Regions from separate parts of the Homo sapiens genome. Here regions 1 and 3 are each linked to region 2. The links are contacts of gene promoters, found by promoter capture Hi-C in blood cells and fetal thymus (Javierre and others, 2016). All regions are on one chromosome and are shown on one strand. Each heading gives the region's core, a stretch centred on a gene start or on the middle of the fragment in contact. The rest is flanking DNA. Distances are from core to core; before and after follow the strand shown.

Region 1 (2,735 bases), core at 15-2,514, 280 kb after region 2:
TCTTCACTTGACTTATTTGGAATTGGTATTATTTATTCCTGAAATGTTTGGTAGGGTTCAACAGTGAAGTTATTTGGGTCTGGAGTCTTCTTTGTGGGAACACTTTAAACTACAAATTCAACTTCTTGAACAAATATAAGACTATGCATGGCTGAGCATGGTGGCTCACGCCTGTAATCCCAGCACTTTGGGAGGGTAAGGTGGGTGGATCACCTGAGGTCAGGAGTTCGAGACCAGCCTGGACAACATGGTGAAACCCCGTCTCTACTAAAAATACAAAAATTAGCCCGGCAATAGTGGCAAGCACCTGTAATCCCAGCTACTCCGGAGGCTGAGGCAAGAAAATCGCTTGAGCCTGGGAGGTGGAGGTTGCGGTGAGCCGAGATCGCACCACTGCACTCCAGTCTGGGCGACAGAGTGAGAGCCTGACTCAAAAAAAATAATAAAAATAAAAATAAAAATAAATAAGATACAGGACTATGCATTCTTGGGAGAGTTTTCCTTGTTTGTGGTGCTTGTGTCTTTCAAAGAATTTATCGATTTCATTTAAATTTTTAACTATATGATATGAAATAAAGTTGTTAATAATATTAATTTTTTTTTATGGAGTCTCACTCTTGTTGCCCAGGCTGGAGTGCAGTGGCACGATCTCGGCTCACTGCAACCTCAGCCTCCCGGGTTCAAGCAATTCTCTTGCCTCAGACTCCCAAATAGCTGGTATTACAGGCGTCCGCCACCACACCCGGCTAATTTTTGTATGTTTAGTACAGGCAGGGTTTCACCACGTTGGACAGGCTGGTCTAGAACCCCTAACCTCAGGTGATCCACCAGCCTCAGCCTCCCAAAATGTTGGGATTACAGGCGTGAGCCACCGCACCAGGCCTCTTATTTTTTAATAAACATAATCTGTGGTGATGACTTTTCTTTCATTCCTAATATAGGTTTTTGGGGGCCTTCACTCTTTTATTTCTAATTATTTTGATTGGAGGTTTTAAAATTTTATTAATTTTCTTAAAGAATCAATTTTTTGTTTTACTGGTTTTTCTCTATTGTTTTTCTCTTTTTATTTCACTTTAACTCCACTTTTATTACTTCCTTCCTTCTGCTTACCTTTAGTTTAATTTGCTCATCTTTTTCATTCTTAAGTTAGAAGCTGAGGTCATGGATTTGAGGCCTGTAGTCTTTAGTAACATAGGTGGTTTAGTGCTATAAATTTACCCTTACGTACTGATTTGGTCACATTCCACAAATTTGGACATGTTAATTTATTTTCATTTCATTGAAAATATTTTCTAATTTCCCTTTGAGTTTCTACCTTGATTTCTATGTTATTTCAAAGTTTGTAATTTTGGCCAGGTGTGGTGGTTCATGCCTGTAATCCCAGCACTTTGGGAGGCAGAGGCAGGTGGATCACTTGAGGTCAGGAGTTCAAGACCAGCCTGTCCAATATGGTGAAACCCCATCTTTACTAAAAAAAAAATAATAATAATACAAAAATTAGCTGGGCGTGGTGGCACGCACCGGTAATCCCAGCTACTCAGGAGGCTGAGACAGGAGAATCAGTTGAACTCAGGAGGCGGAGGTTGCAATGAGCCAAGATGGTGCCACTGCACTCCAGCCTGGGCAACAGAGCGAGACTCTGTCTCAAAAAAAAAAAAAAAAAAAATGAAGTGGAAGTTCTTTTAAATACTACATTTTGAAGTCTGGGGTCATGGAAAATGGGTCTTATATTCTTAACCTCACCTTTTTGGAAACTAGTTAGAATTGTTATTTTATTTATTTATTTTTTATTTTTAGTTCAGGAGTACATGTGCAGGATGTGCAGGTTTGTTACATAGGTAAATGTGTGCCATGGTGGTTTGCTGCACAGATCATCCCATCACCTAGGTATTAAGCCAAGCAAGCATTAACTATTTTTCCTAATGCTCTCCCTCTCCCCACCCCACCTGCCCATAGGCCCCAGTGTATGTTGTTCCTCTCCCTATGTCCATGTGTTCTCATTGGAAACCTAGAAACTATTTTAAGTCAGTAAGCTGACATATTTGTTGGTATTACATTATCTGCTGCCCATATCCAAGGGTTATTATCCCTTGTAACCTGATATCCAGGAACTCAATAACTGTTGTTTCATATATTTGTAGTTTTTGGTTATTTCAAGCATGAGGGCAAATTGGTCTCTTTCTCCAGAGTGACTAGAAGTGGGATTGCCTTTTTCATGTTTTTAAACATTGTAAGCATAGTTGTTTTATGGTCTGTGTCTTAATAATTCCATTAACTGAAATTTTGTGCCTTTTTTTGCCTATTATTCTGCCTGTTCTTGCCCATTGTGTCTTGTTTGTTTATGGACCTGGTTATTTTTGTCATCATACTTTGTTATCTGTAGCAATGACTTTAGGATAGGATGAAGTCACTTTCCTCCAGAGAAGATTTCCATTTGCCTCTGCCAAGTTATTGGGGTTATTCTCAGTTGAGGACGATCTTAAATTTTAAGGCTTGGGATTCCCTGGATTATTAGGTAAATAGAACAAAAGATGAAATTATGTGTGAGAGCTCAACCAAATCCTATTCATCTATTCTCTGTGGTGTAGCCTTTTTGGGGGCCACCTTATTGAAGAAAGGCTCTACTTTGTATATATTGTGGCTTTTAGTTTAATATTTATCTTGCCCTAAGAGGCTATCAGAACAAAAGTTACAATTTTCTGATTTGGCAAATATTCACATGGCAAAAGTAGCTT
Region 2 (3,090 bases), core at 159-2,658:
ACAACCCAATTTGGGGATGGGGTTCAGGTATCGGCATTTTTAAAAAGTCAGCCACCCTTCCCAGGTGATTCTGTAAGTTGGTCCCTCAACCGTACTTAGAGAAATAGTGTTTTAAAGCAGTGGTCCACAAAGTATTCTGCTCATGTGACCCCCAAAAGTATTTTGAAAAATCATGTGTCCCCTCACCCATCTAAGTTGACATCTAAAATTTTTCATGGGAAGTTAAATACTTGACAAAGTATGTGTTTGCTGGTGTCATATAAATATTGGTATTTTAAAATAAAAACTGTTACATCACTATTTTAAACATATCCGGTACAATTTAAATATCACAACAATTTGACACCCTTTATTCATTTATAAAAATAAACGAGCTAGTTCTTTAGTAGTTGAACATTTTAAATTGGCTTTTCTTCTTCTATATTTTCATACCACTTTCAGCCAAGAATCCTATCGTAATGTAATCTACTGTGCTTGGCATCTTTTAATCATTCACCCATTATCTTCTTGTCAACAAAAAATACAAATGGAGGTAAGTTTTCTTAGTTCTTGCCTTAAGTGTTATCTCAGTCCAGAATAAATGTCATCGTAATTATTGTTATATAATGAAAATGATATTAATGTAATTCTTTGATGACTGTTTTATTAGAACGTTCTTTATCCTAATTAGTTCATTTATCCAAGAATACATGAATGTTATTTACAGCTGAGATGGGGTTCGACCTTAGTTGTATTCCTTGTTTCATTTCTTTATAGATGTAAGCACATAAATTCTATGGGAATAGAAAGAAAAAAAATTGGTTACCAATAGGGGTGTATTGGGAACACAGAAAAGAGGGAACAGGAGTGGAAGTGAAGTTTTCTATATACCTTTTTATATAGTTTTTATTTCTAAATCATGTGAATTCAGATAATTAAAATTATGCATAATTTTATATTATATATGTTTCTATATAATAGCAATTATATGGATATATTATATCTATATAATTATATATGGATATATTATATCTATATAATTATATATGGATATATTATATCTATATAATTATATATAGATATATATAAGCATAGATAGATAGATAGATAGATAGATAGATAGATAGATAGATAGATAGATGCTTCCTAGCTTGGCCATGAAATTTCTAGTACAATTTGAGATTAACTTGAATCTTTTTACTTTTGAGAATGGCTATTCTCAGTTTATTAAAGCTTGATCTAGGGTTTTCAAATTGTGCCCTTGTGAAATAAAGAAAATCCCCAGGGACCACAAATGCTTGCTTTCTTTATATTTTTCTTTGAAGAAAGGAGCTGAGTTTAAGAAGGCTAGAGGAAGTCCAGTTAGATTTGATATTGACCAAACAGGAGACTGCCCAGATGCTATTGATCCCCTGCACTTGGCAGCACAAATGCCCTTGGGTGTGCATTACTTCAAGCAAACGGAAGTGTGCCCCGCTGACAGTGGGAATGCCTGGCTGGGGGTGGGGGGGCCCGAGTGCACCACATCCAGCTGGGAGTGAAATTCCTGGAGAAAGCACCCACAGCACTCTGAGCCTGCTTGCAGCCCAACGGCCTCGCTGAGAATGCTACATTTAAAAGTGCAGTTTTTGGATGATTCCCAGAAGATTTTTGTGGTTGATGTAAGTGGAAATCACATTGCTATTATTCCTTTATTATTCATTCAATAATTGTCATTTGTGAACAGCCCATTAGAGAGCAATGTTATGTCTTCTTTAGGACTGAATGAAGGAGGACTGTGATTTTTAGCTTTGGAAAAATAATCTGTATTTAACATCACAATGTAGTTCATATTTTTCCATTAACCTTTCTCTTAGAACAAGTTGTCTTTTCTCAAGGGACAACAATAGCAAATTTTAAAGACAGGATAACTATTTGCAAAAAGTAAAGCAGCAATAAACTAGTTCTTTTACCCAATAAGGTATTGTTGTTCATTGAAATTATGTCTGTGGGTCTCACCCCATGAGCATTTGTGGGGAGAAAACTGTTGTTCTGAGGGAAAGGAGTGGGGGAAGCTATCCTCCTTTTCTGAAGAAAACCTATGGGTTATAAGGGGTAGAATTATGTAGTTGTAATGAGAACTTCAGGAAGGAATGACAAGTATGAGAGAGAAAAATAGGATAAGAGACTATTTAGTTTGATTTAGTACTTATAGTTCAGAGTTCTTAATAAATTCCTAGCTACAAGATGATTGCATACAATTATACCTCATCTCTTCAAGAAAGAACAAATGTATTAAGCACATCATTTGGTGCTCATGTTCCAACATCTTAAGATATGTACATTTTGATGTCAGGATTTATGTATGAGCATTTTGAAAAGTTCTACATTTTTATTGGAACCAAAAATGCTATTTGCTCTGATATTTACATTAGCCACTAACAAGAGACAAATAGTTTATTTTCTCTGAAATTCATACAAAATGTTGGTTTTTTTCTTTTATACATAAACTGACAACTGCTGTGGCTCAGCCATGATGTTGTGTGTGTGGGTAGCCCATTTTTCCAATGAGTATTTTATTTTTATTTGAATCATGTGCTTTGTGAGTGATGACTTCATGTCTTCATCTGCTGTTTTGCTGTCTCTTCCTTTCAGTTTTATGCGCAAAAGGCATTTCTAGTTCCACGGACCTGAATGATTTGTTTTTGTAGCAAATAGCTTCCATTAGAGGTATGAGGCATTTCCTATTCTTTCTTGGAACTATATTTAAGGGGTGGAAAATATCTTTTGAGTAGTTTATCCATTTGCAGACTGGTGGTGTATGCTCACAGTGCTGCAGTACCTGAATTAGTGAGCTGGGTATTCAAAAGATATTGCTTTAGGCTAAGTTTTTAATAGATATTTCAAGGAACTCAAAGAGAAATCTTTGACAAAAAGTGACAGAAGAGTTTGTTGAATGTGCAGTCTAATTCAGATCCATTTAAATGGGGTGGAGGGTGGGTAAGGAACACAGTACCATATCTTCACAAAATTCACCTACGGAAGAGCCACTTCCAGCAACTAGAAGACTTGATTTGGCTTCAAGTCAAACTGTCTCTTTCCAGCTGCAACACATTGTGTTCCTTGGAAAGA
Region 3 (2,810 bases), core at 206-2,705, 490 kb before region 2:
TAACTGGGCCTAAGAAAAGTTTAACAGTTTTTGTGACTTAAAAATGCTCTACTGGATTTCATGTAACTTATAAGGACCTGAGAAGAACAGTCAAGTCTTAAAAGAGAGTGCTACACCATAGCTTGATAGGACCTAACCAGCCAACTAGAGCCAATCTTAATCAGCCTTTTCATGGATTCATCCAAAACACAAGATTGCTTTTTTTTTTCTCAGTCCTGAAGGCGGTCTTCTGTCCCTGAAACTACCTAGAGTAGGATTACATGTTCATCAAGGCCCTTGAGACCATATGGCAAAGACATTATGAATTCGGTCAAAAAGATGGATTCTGGCTTCACAAGGCTGAACACATAGGAAGGAAGTTGAAATAAGGAGCCTGAACACTGATTAGTTAAGATGAATAGCATTTATCAAGGATAAGCTTGAAGGCTGGGCACTGTGGCTCATGCCTGTAATCCCTGTAATTCCAATACTTTGGGAGGCTGAGTGGGGAGGATCACTTGAACCCAGGAGTTCGAGACCAGCCCAGGTAACATGGCGAAACCTCTCTCTACAATATAGATAAAAATTAGCTGGGCATGGTATTGTGTGCCTGTAGTCTCAGCTACTCAGGAGGCCGAGTCAGGAGGATTATGTAAACCTGGGAGGTCAAGGTTGCAGTGAGCTGTGATTGTGCCACTGCACTCCAGCCTGGGTGACAAAGAGAGACCGAGACCCTGTCTCAAAAAAAAAAAAAAAATGGCTTGACCTAAGAAGCACTAACAAGCATCAGTAAGTTGTCCAGTTTCCCATCCCTTCCCAGTGTCCACATGCTTTCTCCAAACTCCCAGGACCTTGGCATATTCCCAGCACTCCCACTCTAAGGCAGGTTTGTATGTAGCCCACCTGGATGGTCCCAATGTCTTCTTAACTATCCTTCTGTCTTCAGCCTCTTTCTTGATCACCGGGCTCATCTTCCTAAAACTTTCTCAGAACAGAAGCTATGAGCCTGTGGCTTCAGAATCCTCCCTGATGTGGTTCAGAAATGCAGATTCTCTAGGCCGCACTGCAGATGATCTGAATCAGAATCTCCCACCTCAGCCTCCCAAGTAGCTGGGACCACAGGGGCAAGCCACCACACCTGGATAATTTTATTTTGTGTTGAGACAGGGTCTTACTATGTTGGCCAGGCTGGTCTCAAAATCCCGGGCTCAAGTGATCCTCCCACCTTGGCTTCCCAACGTGCTGGGATTACAGGCATGAGCTGCCAACCCTGGCCTGGAAGCATTTATTTACCTAGCTCTAGCTTGCTGATCTAGCGTCCAGCTTCTGGTAACTTGATTTCTGTCTTGTAGCCCATTCATTTGACAAACCTGTGTTGAGCACTTTACTGTGAGTTAGGGCCAGTGAAACAGGAAGCCAGGAGGGAGGTCAGAGAATACTTATTAAGGAAGTGATTCCCAGCTGTATCCCTTTCCTGGGGCCAAGAGCCCTGCTCTAACCCCCTCCCCCCATGAATGAAACAACCTGGTGTTGAATCTCCAGCTGTCTCCTGCCTTCTTGAATCTTGAATCTGCCTTCTTGAATGTCCAGTTGTCTCCTGCTCCAGAAGCTCTGTGGAGGATGGTTTTGACAGTTTAACTTGAAGCTACTTAGTTGGTCCTATTCTTGAATGGAAATTTCTGAACTTCAGGCACTGAAACAGTTATTACAGCCCCACACCACTAAGGGAAGACAGTTCTTATTCAGCCAGGAGACTTCAATGCCAATATATGCCCATCCTGACCAGGTGTGAAGAGTCTGACTCTTGATGCTAATTATAATGATGATGATCTATACCATTTATTAAGTGCGTACTGTATGCCAGGTGCTCTTCTTGGCCCTTCATATAACAGCAGCAGTGGCAGTTAATATTTGTGGAAATTACATTATAGTTCAGACAGTGTACTAAGCCTTTTTATGCATCACCTCATTTTGTTTTTTGTTTGTTTGTTTTTTTTTTTTTGGAGAGACGAGGGTCTCACCATGTTGCCCAGGCTGGTCTCAAACTCCTGAGCCCAAGCAATCCTCCTGCCTTAGCCTCCCAAAGTGCTAGGATTACAGGCATGAGCCACTGTGCCTGGTCTGCATCACCTCACTTAATCTTCACAACCACCCAGTGAGGCAGGAAAAATTCTTTCCCACATTTTACAGAGGAATATGCTGAGACTCAGGAGAGCTTCATTAACTTGCCTAATACTTTAGAATCAAGCCTAGTTCTAAATCCAGAGTGCAGTATCTTCACCTTATTCATGATTTAAAACATTTTATTATGGAAAGATTCTATCTGCAAAACTAGGGAGAACAGCATCATGAACCTCCTTTCCCAATCACTCAACTTCAGTAATTATCAACTCAGCCAATCTAATTTAATCTGTGTCCTCACTAATTTCCCTACAATCTGTAATATATTAAAGCAACTCCCGGACATCATCTGTATATATTTTGTTATGTATGTATCTCTGAAAGAAGCTTTATTTCATTTTTCTAAAAACACTTGCAGGTAAACTTTATTATCTCCCCATTATACAGAAAAGTAAATGGAGGTTCAGGGAGGAGTGTCTCAAGCCACATAACTAGCAAGCGGCAGGTCCGAGTGTCACACCCAGGTTTGTCTACCTCCAAAGCCTTTGCTTTGCTGGTGTTTTCTTTGCTAAAACTGGAGCTTTCTTCTATAGCAAAAACTTCTTCCAGGACAGCACTGGGGAATGGAGGGCCTTGAGCTCCTGATACTGCCAAGCTAGGAAACCATTCCTGGCTTCATTAATAATTAACAGCGGGTTCTTTTCCAATGA

The links. The method cuts DNA at HindIII sites, captures the fragments that hold promoters and counts their contacts. A CHiCAGO score of 5 or more calls a contact.
Region 1: a fragment that was not itself captured here is called in contact with the fragment with the promoter of FRMD7 in region 2 in 1 of 17 cell types (neutrophils); the score reaches 5.1 in neutrophils.
Region 3: a contact is called between a fragment that was not itself captured here and the fragment with the promoter of FRMD7 in region 2, in 10 of 17 cell types (non-activated CD4 T cells, naive B cells, naive CD4 T cells and 7 more). The highest score is 8.1, in non-activated CD4 T cells.

Annotation. Positions count from the first base shown.
Region 1 is chrX:131,845,635-131,848,369 of GRCh38, reverse strand. No RefSeq gene overlaps it. Among named protein-coding and RNA genes, the nearest start is that of FIRRE, 16 kb to the right of the region's middle. The HindIII fragment of the contact is 6,188 bases long and covers 1-2,735 here.
Region 2 is chrX:132,126,338-132,129,427 of GRCh38, reverse strand. It overlaps FRMD7 (FERM domain containing 7), which reads left to right and starts at 1,408. Exons shown (of 12, transcript NM_194277.3): 1 at 1,408-1,640. The coding sequence starts at 1,584. The HindIII fragment of the contact is 2,038 bases long and covers 1,215-3,090 here.
Region 3 is chrX:132,618,981-132,621,790 of GRCh38, reverse strand. No RefSeq gene overlaps it. Among named protein-coding and RNA genes, the nearest start is that of HS6ST2-AS1, 47 kb to the left of the region's middle. The HindIII fragment of the contact is 2,069 bases long and covers 421-2,489 here.